Regions from separate parts of the Homo sapiens genome. Here regions 2, 3 and 4 are each linked to region 1. Evidence: promoter capture Hi-C in human tissues and cell types (Jung and others, 2019). All regions are on one chromosome and are shown on one strand. Each heading gives the region's core, a stretch centred on a gene start or on the middle of the fragment in contact. The rest is flanking DNA. Distances are from core to core; before and after follow the strand shown.

Region 1 (5,604 bases), core at 169-2,668:
TCTTGTCCATCGCTCTGTCCCTGGAGCCTAGGACAGTGCCTGGCACACAGGTGGAACTCGGGAAATATTTATTTGAAATACCAACGGAAGTCCACAGCACATATGACCTGGTGATCAGTGGTGGGAGGTGAATGGGTCAAGAAAGACACCAAGATTCCCTGCTCATGAGTGAGAGTGTGGGGAAACAGAAGAAGTCAGGGTGACCTTGGTGAGCACTGCCCTGGGGGACTCGAGGATGGATGAAAGCAGGGAGGAGGCCAGATTAGGTGGGGTAGAGGACCTGAGGTCCATCAGCAAAGGCCATCCCTGGGGACAAAGAGAGGAGGGGAAGAGTAGGTCTGGGCTGGAGAGAAGGAATCTTTTCTCTGAGTTCCTGGGGACCCCAGAGGGAAGGGCAGATGTGGCCCCATTCCCAGAAGCCTTTATAAAAGAGGGTGGGGAGGTCAGGCCTTGGCAAGGACAAGGGAAGGAGTCCCTACGTGCTGGATTGGGATTGGCTGGAAAGGGGACTTCTCTGGGAGAATCCCTCAAACCTCAAGAACTGAGAGAAGGGTGTCTGGGGCTCCTGCCACCATCCCTGTTTCCCTTTTAAGTAATCTGTTTCCCCATCTGTCCATCCATACACACAGCCACTTGTGTCTCCATGACCAACCGCTGGCAGTGGAAGGGTGTCCTTCCCACCCCCACTCTTACACACACTCCCAGCTGGTACCCAGAGCCTGGTCACCCCAGGCCAGGCCTGTGTTTCCAGGTGTAACGGGCAGCAGACGCTGCCCTAGGACTAGAGCAGGGAGGGGGCACGGGCCCACCCCAACCCACAGCGACCCACAGAGGGCGAAAAGAGGACGACCGCAGAGAGAAACGGAAAGGACAGGCCAACGGAAGCAGTACTGCAAGGCTGGAAGGAGAAAAGCCAGGAGGGGAGTGCTTGCTGTGAAAGACAGGGAGACAGAGACCAAGACGGACAGGCAGACAGGCTGGTGACCCAGGATGAGGCCGGAAAGAGCCATCAAAGGAAGGAGAAGGAAGGAGAGAGATTGGAGCGGGACGGCGGGGCAGGCGAGGGAAGGAGGGGGTGGGGAGAGGGAGGGAGGAAGAGAGGGGAGAAAGAGGGAGGAAGAGAGGGGAGAAGGAGGGAGAAGAGAGCGGGAGAATGCGAGAGGAAAGAAGGGAGAGGGGAGGCGTAGAAGGGGAGAGGAGGTGAAGGGAAAAGGAGAGAGCCTGCTGGCGGCGAAGCTGCAAGAGGCAGCTGCGGAGGGAGCGCGCGGCGGGCCTGGGGGAGCGCTGGGCGGGGGCGGGCGGTGCGGGCAGGGCTATACCCGAGCTGGGCGGGCTCCGGGCGCCGCGGGCCCTGCCCTCCCCCTCCATCCCTCCGGACTCGCTCCCCCCTCCTCTCCCTTCCCCGCGACCCTCCGCCCGCCCTCGGAAGACCGAGACAGCGGAGAGGTTGCGGGTGAGCTGCGCTGAGCCCAGGAGCCGAGGAGTCGGGAGCGCAGTAGCGCTGAGCCCGAGCCCGAGCGGCCCCGCGTCCCGAGCGCATCGGAGCGGCCGAGCCGCCCGGATGCAGCGCCTGTCCCGGGCAGCGCAGCCCCGGCCGCAGGTAGGAAAGGGCGGCCGGCGTCGGGGCGCGGGGCGCAGAGCCTGGGATAACGGCGCAGGAACGGCCAGAGCCCCGAGCCGCTGCCGCGAGCCGGGCCGGGTGGGGGGCGGACACCTCGAGATTCAAGCCCCCGCGCCGCACCTTCCCTGAGCCACATGAAGGAGCAGAGGCGCCGCTCGGACCCCGACGTGCGCCCAGGCCATCCGTCCCCTGGGACACTCGGGAGGCAGGAGGGCTGGAACAGAGGCGAGAGTTGCATGCCCCTTCCCTCCCGCGGTGCCCCACTGGCCCCGCAAGTTGGCACTGGATTCTGCTGGAGCCGTCGAAGCTCCCTATTCATTCCCCAGGGCATGGAGGGGACGCGGAGTGAATGACACGAGCAGCGTTGGGGGGCCGTGCGCCACTTTCCCAATCCTGGGGTCAGCTGAGCCGAGTTAGAGCTATGCCCCTCATTTGTTCTCTGCGGGCTACGGCGGGGTCGGGTGCGACTTGAGGATGGGACGTCTCTGGGACAGCCCGAGCTCTCAGAAACGTTGGCTTAAAAGCACACCGGGGCTTGGGCTGAGTGCACCGGAGCTAAGCCTAGTGCACCAGAGCTCGCGCCGCGCTCTCCCAGCCCCGACTTTCTCCAAGAGATGTGGGGTGCGGGCGGTCCCTTAGAGGGCTGGAGGACGGTGCCTCCTTGCTGCTTCGGGAACTGCGCTCCCCTTCTTGCTTTTGGTCTCTGCGTGTACTCCCCGGCGCGACACCGCTCACCACGGTAGCCTCGGGCAGTGCCCATTGGGTTCTGAGCACACGTCCCCACGGGTGGCACCCACAGATGTCCTGTTCTAGGCTTGGCTCGGTCTTCAGACAAGAAACTCAGACCGGGCAGTCCCCTATTGAGGCTCTGAGCTAATATCCTCCCAAAATAGACATGAACCACAAGGAGAATTTTTTAAAAGCCAAATGATAACACCACGTTCTTTCCGGATGTGGGGCTGGAGCGCTCATTCCCTTTCCCAGGAAGCTCAGCCTTATCCCCATGAAGAGCTGGGGGGGCGGGGAGGGCGGGAATAAAATGGCTCCTGAGATTTGTGACACCCCAAAAATCAGAGACGGTATCAGACTGAGTGGCATTGGGGGTCTACCTTTGTTTTTCTATGACACACAAGGTGGGTGTTTGGCAAGAGAGTAGGGATGTTGGGTGCTGGATAGTGCCTAGATTCTGTGTCTTTGGGAACTTTGGGGGAAGTGTCCTCCTAAGGGAGCCAAAAAGGCTGCTACCCCAGTCCCCCAAATTCCAAAACAAAAGAGGTCAGTGAAAGCTACTCGCATTTTGCATGTTATCTCTTTATCTTTGGAGCACATTGGGAAGGACTGACCCAGCTCCAGATCAGGGTCTGATTGGGGCAGGACAGACCCTCTCCAAGGCAGAGAAGGGGAAAAAGAACTTGCCCTTAGAAGTGGGAGTCCCTGGGGGAGTGGGACAGACCTTTTCCCAGAGCAGCCCTGGCAAAATGGCTGAGCCTCCCTTGAGCCTCAGAAATAAATCGTCAGGCAGGCAGCAAACAAAGAAAGAGCTCTGTCTCCAGCCAAGCACTGGCTCAGTGGCCAGTCCTTGGAGGACAAACAGTGAGTCCCAAGCAGAGAGACGCAGCCCGGCCTGTCTGGCAGAGCATCTGGAAAGTGGGGTTCCCCTAGGAACACACAGGAGAGAGGCAGCCACTCTGGAGGTAAAATCAGGGACCCTCTGTCCTGATGTGGGACACTTTATTTCAGGTCTGGAGGCTTGATGAGAAGTGGGTCTCCAGGAACTTAGATGGGGCTGGGAAGGATGTCTGGAGACCAAGGAGTAGGTAGCTTAGAGGGTAAAGATGAGGCAAAATCAAGTCCATCGAAGCCAAAAGATGCACAGTGGCCACGTCTCTCCTGCCTGCCACGGATTTTACATGCCTGGTGACCCCGGAGCAGCAGAGGCTATAAATTTTTTTACACGTGGCCCAGCACACAGCAGGACCTCAATAAACCTCTTAGAATAAAGCCTGCATGGATGGAAGGTGATGCTATCACTGGCATGGACCTACCTGCAATCTGTACCTGTCTCACTGAGCCAGGAAGGCTATAAAATGTGGCCCCTTAGTCCATAGCCGGGAATGAACGAGCCCCAGATGAGGGTTTGCTTTGAGCTGGGGCATTGCCATTTCTGGCCAGGTGACCTTGGGTACGTTCTTGTTCCTGTTGGAAGGAAGGAATGGAGTACCCAAAGCTTCCAATGTGCCAGGGATTATTCCTACAAGAACCGTGTGGAGCAGGCACTATTCTAATCCCCACTTCAGAGGCGATGAAACTGGATGCAGAGAGGGGAAGTGACTTGTCAAAGGTCACATAGCCAGGAGGAGGAAGGGCAGGGATCTTAACCCTACTGTTCTAATTTCCAGGCCAACTCTGTCCTATTGTGGGTCTCTGGGCCTCGGTTTTTCCATCTGTAAAGTGAAGTGATGGGGTGGTAGTTCCCGTGGGCCTGCCATGGGAGCAGTGGCTGGTCCTCTACCTTGGTGGCATATGACATGTGGAGAGCACCATGAAATAAATAAAGCACCAATATCAGGCCACTTCTTGCCATCACACAAAGACTCCATTCCTTGGCTTGGCTGTGAGCTCAGCAGCTGAGATAGAGTTCCATGCTACTTGGAATTTGGAGATGTCTTTTCCACCCTCTTGCTTGTCTATGGGTCTCAGGCAGAGTGTTAATGACCGTTGATTCAGCCTTGCCACCACCTTTAGCCACCTGCATCCTGAAGTCCATCTCCTTTGTCCTTAGAAGCCCATCCCTGTTGCCTAGCCCAAAATGTGCCCACCTTCCCCTTGACTACCACCCCCGCCCCAGCAGCCCCTCTCCTCAGCCACAGCCCCAATGCCAAACCCAGTTAGAGCCACTTCATCCCCTCTCTGCCCAAATGAAAACTAAAATGCAAGCGTCAGCAGGCCTGTCTATGCCTGTGTCGGGACTACCCCTTCAATTCACCCATGCAACGTCGCCTGAGCTTCTCTGTGCCTGGAGAATGGTGGGCAGGGTATAGCCCCGCTGAATGACAGCAACCTCGAATTGACTTCAGTTGCCAAGAGCATTGGGCACTTCCCCCACAAGGTGAAAAGATCATCCTGTGTCCACTGCTCTGTGGCTTGGCATGCCTCGATGCTGGCTTCTCAGACAGGCCCTGCACGGGTGGCTCTTCTTGCCAACTTTACCCCATTCTCTGAAGGGCACTGGGAGATGGAGGGGAAGAGGTTGGTGCTTGAAAAAGAAAAGATTGGGAGGCCAGATGTGCACCCCAAAATAGGACTTCCCAGGAAATGGGTCTCAGTGAGCATATTAACATCCAGCATCTTCATCTACTCCATGCTCACCTAAGACCTCTGGGGTCAGGGGAAGGGGCTATGGAGTCAGTGGGAAGTGGGCCAGTAGCAGACAGGAGAGTTGCCTGGCATAGGCAGTAGGTGTGAATGCAAGCTGTGATATTTCAGCAGAGACCTGGAATTCAGTCATAAACAGAAAAGAAAGAAAACACTAAATATTGTTCCAATGCAATTGTATCAAAAACAGTAATAACTGTCAGTTACTGCATGTTGGCAATATGCCAGGGACTGTGCTGTGTGCTTTATATCGTTGCAGTTAATTTTCACAAAACCCTGTGAGATACGTAGCATAATGATCCCTGTCAGGGTGAGGAAACTGAGGAGGAGAGGGGCTAAAGCACTTGCTGCAGGATCACTGGGCTGGTAAATAGCCTTAAAGCCCAAACTCAGTCACAGCATGCTTAAATCTCTGCCACTAAAAGCCCCTGACACTGCTTACTTGGCAATGACCATGAGCGCCCCCCGCTGCCTCCACCCCAGTTAAGGAGCTGCACAGTTTACAAAGCACTTCTTCATCCATTCCATCTGTGGAGCTTTGCCACAGCTCTGGGAGGCTGGGTGGCATGATAGCTTCTGCGTGATAACTGGGGAAGCTGACTTGCAGA
Region 2 (5,708 bases), core at 1,256-3,755, 51 kb before region 1:
CCCTTCTCTGTCCCAGGCCACCTCTTCTCCCTCCTCCTGTCCCCTAACCTCCACCTACCACCATCCTCCCTCTCAGTTCTCTCCCATCCTTGCCCCTGGTTCAGGAGCCATTCTACCTGCCTCAGTGGCCAGGCGCAAGGCTACAGGTGCAGTCACCTGTTCCCGGCCACCTTCCCTCCCATCTTTGGCAGACAGAAGTCTCAGCTCTCACTAGAGGGAAGACCTGGGCATCCTGCTGGCTCCTCTCTCCGTGGGGCCTGGAGTCTGGTGCTGTTCCCCAGCCAGCCTGGCTGCAGACCTCTCTGGCTGATACCGCTCTTCTTCTTTAATTGGACTTCATATCAAGCCTCTGCCTTGGTTTCTGAGCTATATGAGGGTGGGGAAGGCACACTCTTTTTTCCTTTTTCCTTAGGTTCCCAATATTATTTGGTGGAAACGTGGGCTTTCTCCAAACCAAGGCCTGAGTTTCCTGTAAGGGTCCTCTGTTTTTGATTCACCCAAAAGTCTGCAAACCCCCAGCATCTCTGCTCTGGCCAGCCCTGATCTGAAGCCTGTGTCTACTAAGAGGGATGCCCAGTGCCCCACTGGGCAGGACGGGAAGCCTAGCCTGGGCCCCCTCTGTGCACACAGTTCAGGCCTGCCCAGCTTCTTATGGGCAAGCCACCATCCCACTCTCGTCTCCCTGAGCTGTCTGGTTCTGCGGACCCAGGAAGGGCCAGGCTGGGGCCCTGCTTGTGTTTATCCTCGGCTGCTGTCTTCCCAGCAGGCCCCAGGCAAGGAGGCTTCCCATTGCTGCTGCTACCGGTTCTCCACAGATCCCTGTGGTCCGCCATCGCCGACACACACACACGTCGTAATGTGGCTAACGCTTGACTCACTTAACACTACTCATGGGGCAGGGCGGAGGGTGGATTGTTGCTTTTTGTTTTTTGTAATTTCCTACTAGTATTTGGGTAACTTTGGGGGTGGGGAGGGCAATGTGGGGGCAGGGGAACATGTCATTGTGATGACTTTTTTGATATTCATTAGAAACAATACATCCTTTCTGAGATATTTACAGTATTATTAAAAAATGAAAAAGGTTGTACTGTTTTGCATAATGAACATTTTTATTGGGCATTCAAAGGGTGCAAGATTGTCTGCTTACTCATTTTTAAAAATTAAAGAAATGAACAATCAGTGTGGCTATTCCTAGCAAGGTGGTATTCGTTGGGTTTTTTGTCCTGGTTTTATTCCCTCCATGATATGCCTGCAAAACCATCTTGGGTCCCTGTGTGGAAGCTGCAGTCTCAACTCAGCACTACAAATTAGAAACAAAAGCAGTGGTGTTTTAGGAGCCCAGACTTCTTTAGGTTCATGTATTTACCATTTGCCTAGTATGTGCTAGATGCTTTACAGAAGTTGTCTTTTTAATCCTTACAACAACTCTGTAAAGTAGGTACTTCTCCACTTTATTTATGTATTGCTTTATTTCTTTATTACTTCCCCTGTTTTACAGATAGCCATCTATTCTTGCAGCCACCCCAGCCAGGATCTATGTTCTAAGACCTTCCTCCAGCCTCCCATGAGAAGGAGCCACAGTGGGGCCTGGTTTTCTTCTAAGGCCCTTCTCTGTCCCCAGCCGCCTCTTCTCCGTCCTCCTTACAGATAGGGGATTTTGCGGCACAGAAAAGTCAAGCAATTTGCCCACGGTAACACAGCTAGTAAACATCAGGACCAGAAAGAGAACTCAGGTGTGTCTGACCCAAAAGCCCTGTCTCCTGACCACAATGCCTTATTGTTTCTCGTGCTATGAGGCCTAAATAAAGCAACAGCCCCCTCACAGTGGTGAAAATAGCTGCCACAAAACTTATGCTTGTGTCCTAGTAGGCAGACACTCATGTTTGAGGCAGGCAAGGCAGAGCACAGAGAGATGAGGATTTGGAGTATGCAGCCCTGAGTTAGGCTCCAGGATCTGCCCTTGCCAGCCTCAGTTTTCTCATCTCCAAAATGGGGATAATAGCTCCTGTTTCAAATACAGGGTCTAACTCTGATGAGGTAATGCAGGCATCACGGGATCATGAAGATCCCGTGAGCTCTGTGTGTGAATGGTAAGGTTCTGAATTCACACTAGTTATTATCCTGAATAAATAATGCCTAAGCTCAAAAAGTGTTTGTAGTATTGCCTAGAACTTAGACTAAAGCCTCTAAATTTGTGTCTGATATTTCTAAATGGCTACTCTAGACCACAGGCATGTTTTGTCCTGCCAGCTCATGACAGTAAGATCATCTTATGCAGTGTCTACTCATTCCTGTCTGGTCAACTTTTTGCTTGAAATCCCTGATCTCAAGTCTACCTGACCCTGTCTTGGCCTTTGATCCTCTCTGAGGTGGTAATATCTGCTCGTAGGAAAGCATCCCACAGACTTCTGGAATTCAGAAAGTCTCTGTGATCCACAGCCAGGGTCCCTGAGTAATTCCTACCCTCACAGAGCCACAGGGATTGCTGCAGTCACCTGTTCCCTGCCATCTTCCCTCCTCATGTCTGAAAGTGTCTTGCATTAAGCAGCTGTCATATGCAAGAGGAGGCTGAGTCACAGAAATATGAGTTTCACTCATTCCCAGGAAACTTCATTTGCAGACTCTTGAGCCTATAGAATTAATAGCATGAGGAATTAATTGACGCACTAGACCCCTCCAGGCTGCAGTGTGTGCTAGTGACCCCTGCTGGCCAAGTGGGACACTGCAGGCTGCCTCTACTAGACACTGCCAATAACCAGAGAAGGGGAAAGGAGCTTTGGCAGTGAAGTCAAGGCTACCTCAGGCCTAACAGCATTTCCCATGGGGGAGGGGATCAGGCACCAAAGAGCAGGCATATTCTGCTGAAAGTGGCCAACTTTGGAAAATTGAGTTCTTTCATGCATTCAGCAGCCCTTTACTGAGCAGCCACCATATTCTTTGTGTGGACTCAGGACTAACAGCCCCTTCCCTGGAGTGTTCCTACTCTTAGGAGGAGAGGTGTCCATACGCTTCTGGACAGGAGTAAGTTCACAGGGAGATGCTGTTCTGATTCTGACCTCCTGTTCCTAGCCGTCTTCCAGCCAGTTAGAGTTCTTCAGTGTGGCAGTGAGCAAGTCTGCCCACTCCTTGGGCCTCGGTTAGCCACTGGTAGAATGGCAAAGAAATGAGACCCAGAGAGGGAATGTGATTTGCCCAAGATTCCCCTAGAACTCTGTATTCCCATCTCATAATCAGTCCCCTGCACCATCTCAAGCCGTTAAAAAGCAAATGAGCTTGGGCCCCTCATTACCCATTAGGGAGAAAAGTCAGCCTTTGTTGCCAACTCTGGCCACTTCTCTCTCATTTTTAAATAATGCCCACTTTGTGAGGGATACTGGAAAGAGTAACACATGCAGCACTCTCTGAGCATCCAGCGTGGCTCAAGTGTCAGAGCCACTTCACAGGAAACCATATGGCAGGATGTGCCATGGACTGAGTGCTGGGGAAGTACTGCAGGCAGGAATAAGAACTGTTTATGGAGCACCTGCTGCGTTCCAGGGTCGTGCCTGCATTACCTCATCAGAGCCTCACAACAAATCTAAGAGGTAATTGTCATTAATCCCATTTTTCATAGGAGAAAACTAGAGTTCAGAACTGTAAATAATGTGCTCTAAGAGATACAAATTACACCTCCTGGCAAGTGGAGGAGCTGGGTTTGGATCCAGGTTTGCTGGATCTAAATAAGGCCCATGTGCCCAGCCACTTAACCAAGGATGTGGGACTTGAGTTGCACCTTGGGGGATGGGAAGACTTAGGCAGAGAAGGACATTTGAGATGAGGGAACATCCCGAGTGATGACAGAGGCTTTGGGAGAGCAGGGAACCAGGGTACTCCCCATTCACTGCAGCCTCCACTTTCTGGGCTCAGGTGATCCTCCCACCTCAGCCTCCTGAGTAGCTGGGACAACAGGTGTGTGCCACCCTGCCCAGTTTTGTTTTTTTTTTTTGTAGAGACAGGGTTTCACCCCAGTCTACTTTCTATAACCCCTCATGTATCTTCACCAATCTCTCTGGCAGAGCAAGATCAGGTAACACCATGCTTATCATGGAATGGCATCTGATGCTGGTCCCCCCACAGGACAGGAGCTTGGATGAACAAGTGCCCAGCTTGCCCCAGAGTGGGGAGCCATGGGAAAAGGAATACATAGGCATTGAAGACCTACTCAGTGCTGGAGACCATACCAGACACTTTCCTATGCATTACCTTGCCCTCAACTGCCTTGTAAGTTGGCATGGTGTTCACATTCTACCAGGAATGAGGAAACAGGCTCAGAGAGGTAGATTCAGCTACCCAAGGTCACAGAGCTGGAAAGTGGTAGAGCCGGGGTAACAGCCCAGGTGTGTCTGGCGCCAAGGCCCATGCACTTTCCACCGACCACCTGTAGTAGTCAGGCTTCTCTAGAGAAACTTCTCTAAACATTGGATAAAAATATATAGAAAGAGACTTATTATAAAGCATTGGCTCATGCAATTATGGAGGCTGAGAAGTCCCATGATTTACTATCAGCAACATGGAGACCCGGGAAAGTCAACAGTGTAGTTCCAGTCCAAACCCAAAGGTTTGAGAGCCAAGAGCACTGACGTGCAATGGCAGGAGAAGATGGATGTCCCAGTTCAAGCAGAGAAAAATTTTCCCTTCACCTTTTTGTTGTACTTGGGTCCTCAAAGGATTGGATGACGCCTGTCTGCCTTGGTGAGGGCAGGTCTTGTTTACTAGGTCTACTGATTCAACTGCTAATTTCTTCCGGAAACACCCTCACAGAGACGCGAGGAACAATGTGTACCAGCTATCTGCACATTCCTTAGCTCAGTCAAGGTGACACATGAAATTGACCATCACAGCACTGTTGGGAGCCACTGAGTGTCACCACAGCCATCAGCATTGAGAGGTTACTCAAGGCCATAGAGAAGCTATGGATGGTGGTGGAGGCCATGTGGGGAAGGTCTGAGGGTCTTCAGGGGCCTTGGAATGCCTTTGGTGACACTAGGGACCTCTGGAAACCTTCACAATTTCCCAGAAAACGATAGAAGGCCATGAGAGTTCACTGATAAAGACAAGGGGATGTTAAAGCCAGTGAGAGGCATTGGAAGTACCTGGGAACCCCCAGAGACCTGAAAGAGATGTTGCAAGGGGAGAGGGCCTGGAGACCCAGTAGAATTATGTGGAGCCATTTGGGAGTTACGAGAGACTGGGAGTGACAGGAGTATATGAGAGTCATAACGGCTACTGAAAAAAAAAAGGAGGCTCATTGGGGAGCATTAAGAGGTGCTGAGAGCCATCAAGAGTTATAAAAAATATCAGGGCTCTTGGTCATGACTGGGGGGTATTTTAGTCATCCAGAGTCCTAGGGAGTACTTGGGGTCACCTTGGGGGGCCCTGCCTGGGGGAGCAATATGCAGGATGTAGCCTTGAGGAAAGGGGAGGAGGGTAGCTCAGAAATGCTCTTACAGCGGGGCGCAGAGATGGGGGAGCTGGAGCCAACACGAATAAAGGGGCCGGATGCCCAGCTGCCATAGATGGAAAAGCCAGGCCAGAACTCCGCAGACCACGATAGGCGGCCGGCAGGTACATGATGGGACAAGGACTTTTTGACCTTGATCTTCCTAGGCTTGTACAGGCCTGAGTTTTCTTGAGATTCCCAACCTGGGTGTGCCAGATCCCCCATCTGG
Region 3 (5,417 bases), core at 421-2,920, 33 kb before region 1:
AATGGAGGTGCTCACCTCCTAGGCTTATGTGAGGTTACGTGCATCGTGCATCGATGTTTGAAACAGAGCCTCGGCAGAACAAGCTGTCACCAGTGCAAGCCGTTCACGGTGATAATCGAGAACGATGTGTGAACTTACTCACCACATGTCTATTGAGCATCTCGCTGCGTGTGGGGCCCTCAATCCAGCAGGGAGGCAGACGCACGAGCTCCAGGCTCACCAACAAGGGGACTGACGATCCCAGTACAGGTTCTCACCCGCTCCATGATCCAGGACCCTGAGTGGAGGACACCTGGCTTAGTCTAAGCTCTTTGCTCACCAGAGGGGTCTCAGGGAGGGTGCTGGACCCCAAGTCAACCAGCCAGGGAGGGAGGCCAGGGGCCCCAGCACACCACACTGCCTCACCCACAACATCTACCCACTTGATAAGCCTTGGCCACTGCCCAAGTGGGCTGAGGGGAGCTGGCCTTGAGCTCTAGGGAGTGGGGCATTCAGAAGCAATCAGTGGCACTTGTGGCTTGGCGAGCTTCCCAGCTATTTGTGACCCAGCAGCTCTCCTTCCACAGCTGCTGGAAATTGAGCCATGGAGGCCACTTGATCTAGACAGCTATTGCTCAAGAGTTCCTGTGCCCACATCTCCAGGACATGAGCACCTATTCCCATCAGCCACGGATGGGTGGCCAGAGGCAGAGGGAGAAAGCCAGGAGGGGCCTGCAGAGAGTGGCCCCACGGCAGGCCTGAGGGGTTAGAAGGGACACCTACAGGTCCTGAGGGCCAGGGAGCCTATTCTCCCATAAGTGCCAGGGACGTGCTCTTCCCAATAACCCTCCCCAGGAAGTGACCTGAGCCAGCGGCTGGCCATGTCCTACTGAGGTAGAAATGTCCCAGGACTCCTTCTGGGGGTGGGCAACTTAGAATTTGGGATCTCATAAAAGGGGAAGTAGAGCCTCAGGCTCTGGAGCCAGGTTTGTATCCAACCATTGCCACTTACTGGCTGGGTCTCAGTTTTCTCATCTGTAAAATTGAAACAATAATAACAGTACTGACCTCCCAGGGCTGTAGGAAGGTTTAAATGAGTTCATACAAATAAAGTGACTAGAGCAGGGCTTGGCACATATCAGGGACTTACTGAGTATTAGCTGCTATTGTAGTTCCCCCCTTATCTACACTTTCACGTTTTGCAGTTTCCGTCACCTTCAACTGCAGTGTGAAAATATTATATACGATAAGAAATTTTGAGAGGGAGAAAGACATTCTCATAACTTTGACTACAGCATATTGTTATAATTATCCTATTTTATTGTTATTGTTAATCTCTTACTGTACCTAACTGATAAATTAAGCTTCATCATACGTCTGTATGGATAGGAAAAATCATAACACATATAGAGTTTGGTACTATCTTTGGCTTCAGGCATCCACTGGGGGTCTTGGAAAGTATCCCCCACAAATAAGGGGAGACTGCTGTGTTCCTATGAAGAGTGAACAATCCTGCCGGGGCAGGGAGCTCAGGTGAGCTGAATTATCGGGCAGTTACCTAATGAAAGCAGATGGAAATACAGGTGTGTTTTGCTGCTGGAATGCATTTGGCACCTCTGCTCTTGACCGCTCTGATCTCACCACAGCTGTCTATGCAGGCTCTTCCTTTGCACTCACAGATTATGCTCAAGGGCGTGCCAGAGTCTTTGCCTATATGTGGTGGCGGGTCGGTGGGGGGCACCCACAGAGCTCACTGGGGCCCCGTGCACGTGCAACTCAGAAGTCCAGGGAAGTTAGCACCCCGTTCCTTGCACCCCTTGAGAAATGGGGGACTGGAGCTGATGGGCAATTGTGGAAGGGCTTCTGTATGCCCCTCAAAGATCCTGGCAGATTCACGTCCCTGTTGCTACCATGGCAGCCTGGATTGCACGGCCTTGTATTGGCTTCTCTCTCCCTGCCTCACTCTTCTGGCTCCCTCACTCCTATTCTCAGGTGTCACCTCTCACACCTCTCACACGAACTACCTCAAGCCAGTCCTTGTCTGAGATTCTGATGTCAGGGGAACCTGTGTCTGGTGTAGAAGCCTGGGTCCTAGTGCTGGCTCTGCCATGCCCACACAGTGTGGCCCTGCACAGGCCAATGCCGTCCTTTGGGTCTTGGTTCTTTTGTCGGCCCCATGAGTGGGTTGGATCTTTGTGACCGTGACCTGTGGCATGGATGACACAGGTATTAGGGGAAGTCTGGATGCTCCCTAGGTGGCCTCACCCTCCCTGCCAGCCTCAGGGCCTCTTCTTCCCCCAACTTCAGTCCAAATCCCTTCCTCATCCTCCAGGTTCCTCCCACCACTTGCCTTCTGTCTGCCCCAGAGCAGTGTGTGATGATGCAGAGGCCAGGGGCCAGGGTCTATCCACACACAGTTTCACACATGCATGCTCATGCCCCGTGCACGTGCAAGAACATGTGTCTGAATGTGTGGGCCCACGTGTGCATGTGCATGCGTTTTGCTCAACCTCCAGACTATGGCCCCACATGGCCTATGGGCGCTCAGACAATCCAGCCACAACTACGATTAGGCAGAGGGGATCCAAGGTGCCCTCTGCCTGAGTGAGAGGCCTGCAGATCACCTTTTTGCACTGCAGGCCTGGCCAGTCAATCCCAGGGAGAGCAGATGGGGGCATGAGGAAACAGAGATGCTCTCAAGGGGATGGACTAAGTAGGAGAGAGGGAAGAAAGGACCTCAGTTACTGGTACCAAGTGTTCACAGATGTCATCTCCTCTTGTCCCCACAACCAGGAGGTAGGGATTAAGACCCCACTCTATAGATGGGGTAGTGGAGTGTGGCAGGGGAGGGGGCTTTATGTAGACTTGAAGTTCAAATCCTGGATCCATTACTCACAGGCTTTGGGAAAGGGCCTTGATATCTCTAAGTTTCAGTATCCTAGTCTGTAAAATGGGCCATTGATTTCTCCTCCTCAGGATTCTACTGGGTGTCAGGGGGAAAAATGAGCACAAAATACTTTTATAAAGCCCAGCATCTGTCACAGAGGAAGTGGCTCTAAAGGAGGACTATGATTATAGCTAAGATGACATGAAATGGGAGTCAGAGACTATGGACCCAGACTCCCACCTTCCCCCATTACTGTCCCTTTGGTGGTGCTGGTCAGCCCCTTGTCCTTGATGCAAGGTGGAAGGTGAGTTCCTGGGGGCCTCCCCTTCGCCCTGCCACAGGTGCACCCACCGCTCATAAGCAGAACATTGGGGAAGGCAGCTATGGGTGGGTGCCTGAGCCCCTCCCACCCTCAGAGACAAAAATAAAGTGTATAACTGTCAGAAGCATTATGGAACTGTCAAAGGTAAATGAAGTCATTCCCGTGAATTATTAATAAGTCACGAGCCTACCTATTCAATGACAGTATAAAAAAGAAAAAATATTTATCAAAAAAATTTTTTAAAAATTAGGGTGGACAAAGTGGCTCGTACCTGTAATACCAACACTTCGGGAGGCTGAGGTGGGAGAACTGCCTGGAGTTCGAGACCAGCCTGGGCAACATAATCAGGCCCTGTCTCTACAAAAAATAATTTTTGAAAAAATTAATCAGGCATGGTGGTGTGCACCTATAGTCCCAGCTACTCAGGAGGCTGGGGTGGGAGGATCACTCAAGCCCAGGAATTTGAGGTTGCAGTGCAGTGGCTGTGATCACGCCACTACCCTCCAGCCTGGGTGACAGAGTAAGACCTTCTCTCTTAAATAAAAAAGAGATATTTTTTAAAAAATTAAAACCAAAAGGAAAAAAGAAATGCTGTGGGCTGTGGGAATAGTTTGCCATGAGTTTGCAGAACCCAGGAGCCAAGTGTTAGGAGAAACCATGGGCCCTGGGCACAGAATGTTTCAGAGCCATGGAAAGTGATGCCCATGCGGGAAGAGGGGCCCATCAGCTTCACCTAGGCACTTGGTCCACATGGAGCGCTAGATGAGCAGTGAGAATTGCCCCTGACATCGCTTGCTTCCTGTCCCCATGGTTCATTGAATCTGAGAGCAGCAGCCTCAGCTGTCTGGATCTTCACCCATCCTGCTCCAACCTAATTGCCTTTGCCTAGACCACAGTCAGAGCTGGTGACTTTGCCAGCTGTGGCCTCACCTCCCTAGACTCCAGCTCACTGTGGAAACTACAGAGCCCAGTGACCCATCACTTCCACTGCAAGAAAGGCTGGGGATGCACTCTGACAATAATTGCCTTTCTCCAAGCAATTCAAGGTAACTAATCAGCACCATGATGCTGGCAGCTGTGACTGCTAATGGAGCTACAAACTGTCAAACTGAAGGTAATAATTGTCTCCTAAAAAAAAAAAAAGAAAGAAAAAAACTAGTTAATTAGCATAATCAGGGAATAAATGGGCCAATATTCCTAACCCAATGTGGGAGATGAATATGAACTATGGGGCCTTCAGGGTTTCCAGTGGAGAGAACAACACCAGCCAGGAAGTTGGGGGCCACCAGCACAGAAGGGAGAGGAGAAGAGGGTAGGAGATGCCTGTGTATTTGGAGGTATTATTGTATGAGTGCTTCTGGAGACGTTGTTTTATGTAAAATGCATGCCTGTCTTCAAGGCAGTGATGTTCATCTTGGCATTTCTCCAATCCATCCCTTTGATGTGTACTTACTGAGCACCTGCTGGGAAGGCAGCCAGTATTTATTCTTGGCAAAAAAAAAAAAAAAAAAGAAGAAGTTCACAAAGCGTACTCCCATCCTCTAAGCTGCTTATCCACCTTCCCACCCCAAAAAAGGATCTGTTCTCTGGGTTGTCAAGGTAAGACGAGAGCTCATTCGAAGTCATACATGACTGGTAAGGATACCTAGGGGGCCCTGGGAATTGAAAAACAATCTCTCAAAGTCATCTGTCAAATCATGGCAGGCATTGACTGCCTGATATTTGTACCCTTCTGATGGGTGTGTTCAGAGGGCTGGGGAGAGGCATGAACTGATCAGAGTAAAGCAACCCTTCTCTAGACTCACTGTGTGCTGGGAGTTTACCACGACTATACATACATTTGCTTAGTCCTCCTCATGAGACTGTTAGGTGGGTACCATTATTATCCCCATTTTATAGAGGAAGAAACAGAGGCAGAAAAATGGCTAAATGACTTATTCAACATCAACCCGATAGTAAGTCCCAGAGCCGGGATTTGAATACAGGAAGCCTAAATCCAGAGATCATGCTCTTAAGTCTCAGTCTAATACAGGAGAGTTAAGCTTTACAAAGCCAAGCCTCCATAAGAGAGGGCAGGAAGTAGAAGGGAAGCATCACATACTGAGCACCTAGCACATGGAAGGCACTGAGCTGAGGACCCTCAAGAGCTGGAACTTATCGCCAAGGCACTTGCGGCAGAAGCCAGGAGTGGCCGACACATCTACAGTGCAGGGCCCTAGGGCAGTCACT
Region 4 (5,863 bases), core at 1,891-4,390, 52 kb after region 1:
ATCTTAATAGTTGAGCTTATATTTCTTTGAATTTTACTGATGCAGGACTTTTTTTCATGTCCTTTCTGGCCTGTTGTATTTATTTTGTGAATTTATAGCTCATGAGCATCTTGCTGTTCTTTAGAGATGGGCTCTCGCTCTGTCGCCCAGGCCGGAGTGCAGTGATACAATCACTACTCACTACAGCCTCGAACTCCTGGGCTCAAGCCATCGTCCTGTCTTGGCCTTCCCAGTAGCTGGGACTACAGGCATGAGACACCACGTTCAGCTAATTTTTTAATTTTTCTTTTGTAGAGACAGAGTCTCGCTGTGTTAACCAGGCTGGTTTCAAACTCCTGGCCTCAAGCAATCCTCCTGCCTTCACCTCCCAAAGTGCTGGGATTATAAGCATGGGCAACTGTGTCCAGCCAGCATCCTGTTTTTGTATTTGTCTTATTTGTTTGGAAGAGTTATTTTTAATATATTGAGGATATTAACACTATCTTATGTATGTTGAAAATAAATCACAGGATGTATATGGATAGGTATATGTGTATGTGTATGTACATGTATATGTATATGCGTATGTACATGTGTATGTATATCTATATGTATAGATATATGCATATGCACATGTATGTGTGTAGATAGATATAGATAGATGATAGATAGATGATAGATAATCTAGATAGATAGATAGATAGATAGATAGATAGATAGATAGATAGATAGATAATCTCTTCTCCCAAGGAAGTCTTTCTGTTTTCTAGTTCCTGGCTTCTTACTTCCAAACCTTTTACAGTTTGAGCCAAAGGCTAGGAAAACATTTTCAGCCATCCCCTTTTCCAACCCTGTGCTAGTGTAGCCCCTCTCTTGGGTGGAAATGTGAGAGCAATTGCATCTTCCACTCAGGGCTGAGGATTCATGGCTTAGTAAGTGTCAAGTGTTTAGAACAGGGCCTGGTACATAGGAAACTCTCATATTGAGCCATTCTGTGACTTTCTGTGACCGCACAATAGCACCAGCTGCTTACTCTTCTCTCTGTCCTCACAAACCAGCCCTTTTATGATCCTCGTGGAATCTTCCCTGGCACACCCTTCAGGCTCACTGAGCCACGGTCAGGGCTGCTCAGAGAAGGCAGGTGTTGAAGTAGTGGCAGTTCATGACAACAGTGATAATGATAACAACTATTCATTCAGGCCCTACTAAGTTTGAGGCTCTGTACCAACCACCCCACAAGATTTTTCTCACTTCTCCCTTGGGACCACCCCATGGGGTATGGCTGACCCTTCATGTCAGTGCTCCAGCCATAACACTGAAGTCCCTTTTCCATCTTCATTTTTGTGCACACTGGCTCCCGCCGTGCCTGCACTCTGACATCCAGCACTTCTGTCTGTGTCAGATACAAGCATTATTTTTATAATAGGAAATACATAATAAACTATATTTTTAAATACACAAAGTCATGGCTAGGCACATTGGCACATGCCTGTAATCGCAGCACTTTGGGAGGCCAAAGCAGGAGGGTTGTTAAGACCAGGAGTTCAAGCAAGACCCACCTAAGCAACATAGCAAGGACCCATCTGCACAGAAAAAATTTAAAAAGTTAGCCAGGCATGATGGTACATGCCTGTAGTACTAGCTATTCAGGAAGCTGAGGCAGGAGGATGGCTTGAACCCAGGAGTTCAAGGTTGCAGTGACCTGTGATTGCACCATTGCGTGCCAGCCTGGGCAACAGAAGGAGACCCTATCTCTAAAAAAAAACAAAACAAAACAAAACAAAAAGGTATACAAAGTCACGTGGGCTTGTCAATGTGGAGAAGGACAATTTACTGACAAGGCATCTCATTATAATGCACATAAAATTAAGGACTTTGTATATTTTGCTTTTGGAGGAAAATCTTCTTTCACCAAAAAATGCTAATGGGACATGGGTGAGGAGACCAACCATGACAGACAACTCTAATAATATCCTAACATGAGCGAAGGAGAAATCAAGGGTTCCAGTGATGTGTTTACTGATGTTTCACCTGATACTGTCAAAGAGAATGTCTTGGTGTTTTACTTGAGGTTGGTGTCAGTTCAGGTCCGCCAAGAAGCAGATGCCAAGACAAATGTAGCAGCAAAATGGACCTGTGGGTAAACACCTTGAAATTTTGTATTGATGTATAATAATTGCACATATTTATAGGGTACATGTGATATTCTGATACATGCATACAATGTATAACGATCAAATCAGGGCATTTAAGATGTCCATAGCCTCAAATGTTTATCATTTCTTTGTGTTGGGAACATTTCAGATTTTTTCTTCTAGCTATTGGGGTAAACACCCTTAAATGACACAGGGGAGAAAGGGCAGGGCCAGGCAGGAAGACACCCAGCCACATTGATGGCTGGACAACAGGAGAAGGAAGGAGTCATGTGTGGGAAGAACCATAGACTGCAGTGCAGCGCTGGGACAGTCTCAGCCAGCCCGCCAGGAATCCCCACTGCAAAGGCTGTGCTTTGAAGAGTTCCACATTGAAGAAATGTCCAGGCCCTATTAACTCCACTATGCACTCAGTGCTGCCAGGGACAGTGTAAACTTGGCTCAACACTGTGGGACATCCCAAAGGCACTGCAACTGGGGGCCACTAGCCTACTGTACTCCCCACAGCAGTTCTCCAAATTACAGGAATGTGGAGGCAAGGAAAAGATATCCTTATTTCCTGAATGCCTTCTGTGTGCCCGGCACTTTCTCGTGGAATACTGTTTACTCCTCACCACAAACCTACAGAACATTGCAGGTAATTACTGGCATTTTGATATGGTGTGCATGTTCATCTCCTCCAAATCTCATGTTGAAATGTGATCCCAAATGTTGGAGGTGGGCCTAGTGGGAGGTGTTTGGGTCATGGGGGCAGATGTCTCATGAATGGCTTGGTGCCCTCCCCATGGTAATGAGTTTGCACAAGAGCTGGTTGTTTAAAAGAACCTGGCATCTCTCTCTCTCCCTCTCTCATATGACACACTGACTCCCCTTCCCTTCCACCATGAGTAAAAGCTTCCTGAGGCCTCATCAGAAACCGAGAAGATGCTGGCACTATGCTTCTTGTACAGCCTGCAGAACTGTGAGCCAAATAAACCTCTTTTCTTTATAAATTACCCAGTCTCAAATATTCCTTGATAGCAGCACAAAAAGGACTAATGCACGTTTATAGATGAATTTCCTCAGGCTCAGAGAGGGAAAACAACTTTCTCACAAAGCCACAGAGCTGAAAGTCACAGGACTGGACCCTGAGCCCAGATCCTTCCACTATAGCACAGTGGCCTCCATGGTCACAAACATGGCACAGGGTATAAGGCAAAGATCTAAGACCAGGCAGAGTTAAGGCAAGAGGGGGATCAGGAAAAGCCCATGGCATCAATATGAGGGGCTTCTGCCCCTTTCCTGCTGGAGTCTTGTTACAGCCCAAAGGGGTTCTTCTTGCCCACTGCAAGATGAAGCCAGAACATTGAGACAGCAGTGTTGCTGTAGAGAAAGGGTTTAATTATCACAAGGTAACTAAACAAAAGGATGGGAGATGTTTTTCAAATCTGCCTCCCCAAGAATTCAGAAGCTAGGGTTTTTAAGTGTACTTGAAAACAGCAGGCAGAGGGCTGGGAAACTGAAACAATTGATTGGCTGGGGACAAAATCACAGGGGTCTCTAAACTGTCTTTGAACAGCTGAGTCAGTTCCTGGGAGGGGATTTCAGGATCATGTGGCATCTCTTGATCTCCTGAAATGCTAAATCTGAAAAACATCTCAAAGACCAGTCTTTTAGGTTTCACAATAGTGAAGTTATCCATAGGAGCAGTTGGGGAAGTTACAAATATCACGACCTCCAGTTATGTGACTCTGGGGCAGTAAGCAACATATAGAAAAGCAAACTAAACAAGCAATGGATGGTTATAGTTCAACCTATTCTTTAGCGAAGTTGTAGGCCTCTAGCATCATTCTAACCTTGTTACCTTTTGTTAGTCTTTACAGATACGATTGCAATTTCCAAACAAAGAAGGGAACAGCTCCAGGAAGGGGCTGCTATGGCCTCCGCACAAGAATGAGCAAAAGCAAACTAGCCTGGTAGAAGCAAGATGAAGTCAGGTATGTTCGATTTCCCTTACTACTACAATTTTTGCAAAGGTGTTTTTAGCTTCAGAAATTAGCCCCACATCTTCTGCCAACCCCTCTGGAGGCAAGGGCCTGCACTGACCTCGTAGGCCTGCAGGGGCTTCAGGGTAAAATGCACAGACTGAATTTACAAGGACCATGCCAGGAAACACCGGCCCAGAAGCCCCATGCACAAATCCTTAGCGGCATCTTCAGAAAAAGAAAGCTTTAACCCAGCAGTGCACATAAGAATCAGAGAGTGTGCTGGGCAGAAAGCTGATCCCTAGACCCCATCCCAGACACTCTGATGCAGGAAGTCTAGGCTGGTGCCCAGAAATTACATTCTAATAAGCACCTCAAGCCCTTCTAGTGGAGAAAGTCATCCACACATCACATCAAGAAATACTGTTAAAAGCAATCCTGGAACCAAAATTGAGGAATAGTATACAAAGCAACTGGCCTATGCTCTTGAAAAATGTCAAGGTCATAAGAGACAAAGACCAAGGAATTGTTCAGATTAAAGACATGACAACAGAATGCAATTTTATCCGGAAATGGAACCTGGCCCAGAAATTTTTTTCTCTTGCCGTAAAGGACATTAGTGAAACAATAGATGAAATTTGAATAAGATATGTAGATGAGATAATAATATTGTATGGATGATAATTACATGATTTTGATCAATACACTGTGGTTATGTAAAAGAATGTCATTTATTTAGGAAATGTATGCTGAAGTATTCAGGCTAAAGGGGAAACTTGTCTACAACTTATTCTTAAATGACTCAGAAAAAAAAATACAATATAGGCTGGGCACAGTGGCTCACACCTGTAATCCCAGCACTTTAGGAGGCCCAGGTGGGTGGATCACCTGAGGTCAGGAGTTCAAGACTAGCCTGGCCAATATGGTGAAACTCCGTCTCTACTAAAAATACAAAAATTAGCCGGGTATGGTGGTGGGTGCCTGTAATCCCAGCTTCTCAGGAGGCTGAGGCAGGAGAATCGCTTAAACCTGGGAGGCAGAGGTTGCAGTGAGCTGAGATTGTGCCACTGCACTCCAGCCTGGGCAACAGAGTGAGACTCTGTCTGAAAAAAAATAATAACAATACAGTATATACATATATAATATGTGTGTGGAGAGAGAGCATAAGAGAGAATGATAAAGCCAGCAAATGTGGAAAATAACATTTGGGGAATCTGGGTGAAGAGTATACAGAAACTCTTTATATGAGTTTTGTAACTTCTATTTATTTATTTATTTATTTATTTAGAGATGGGGTCTTGTTCTTTTGCCCAGGCTGGAGTGCAGTAGCACAATCTGGGCTCATTGCAACCTCCATCTCCCAGGTTCAAGCAATTCTCCTGCCTCAGCCTCCCGAGTAGCTGGAACTACAGATGTGCACCATCCCACTTGGCTAATTTTTGTATTTTTAGTAGAGATGGGGTTTCGCCATGTTGTCCAGGCTGGTCTCAAACTCCTGACCTCAAGTGATCCACCGACTTCAGCCTCCCAAAGTGCTGTGATTACAGGCATGAGCCACTGTGCCCAGCTGAGTTTTACAACTTCTAAGTCTGGAATTATTTTAAACACACAAACAATCTAGGAAGAAGCTGGGTATCACCTTTATTTGATGAGAAAGGTACAGGTTTGGAACAGGTTCCTACGGTGGGGAGGGGGATGGTGGAGCAGGCTCTAGCTTTCACCAGGACCCGTCCCCACTCACACACTCCCATCCCTGTCATTGCCCCT

What was found. Contacts are between HindIII fragments. The study calls those that stand out against the background at their distance.
Region 2: a contact is called between a fragment that was not itself captured here and the fragment with the promoter of SLC6A1 in region 1, in 1 of the 25 tissues and cell types used here (pancreas).
Region 3: a fragment that was not itself captured here is called in contact with the fragment with the promoter of SLC6A1 in region 1 in 1 of the 25 tissues and cell types used here (spleen).
Region 4: a fragment that was not itself captured here is called in contact with the fragment with the promoter of SLC6A1 in region 1 in 1 of the 25 tissues and cell types used here (dorsolateral prefrontal cortex).

The regions. Positions count from the first base shown.
Region 1 is chr3:10,991,330-10,996,933 of GRCh38, forward strand. SLC6A1 (solute carrier family 6 member 1) reads left to right here and starts at 1,419. Exons shown (of 16, transcript NM_003042.4): 1 at 1,419-1,600. RefSeq lists an enhancer at 1,739-2,263. The HindIII fragment of the contact is 17,540 bases long and covers 1-5,269 here.
Region 2 is chr3:10,939,536-10,945,243 of GRCh38, forward strand. It overlaps SLC6A11 (solute carrier family 6 member 11), which reads left to right. Exons shown (of 14, transcript NM_014229.3): 14 at 1-1,179. Among named protein-coding and RNA genes, the nearest start is that of SLC6A1, 50 kb to the right of the region's middle. The HindIII fragment of the contact is 8,537 bases long and covers 1-5,708 here.
Region 3 is chr3:10,958,015-10,963,431 of GRCh38, forward strand. No RefSeq gene overlaps it. Among named protein-coding and RNA genes, the nearest start is that of SLC6A1, 32 kb to the right of the region's middle. The HindIII fragment of the contact is 3,231 bases long and covers 56-3,286 here.
Region 4 is chr3:11,041,517-11,047,379 of GRCh38, forward strand. No RefSeq gene overlaps it. Among named protein-coding and RNA genes, the nearest start is that of SLC6A1-AS1, 25 kb to the left of the region's middle. RefSeq lists a silencer at 4,087-4,381. The HindIII fragment of the contact is 4,784 bases long and covers 749-5,532 here.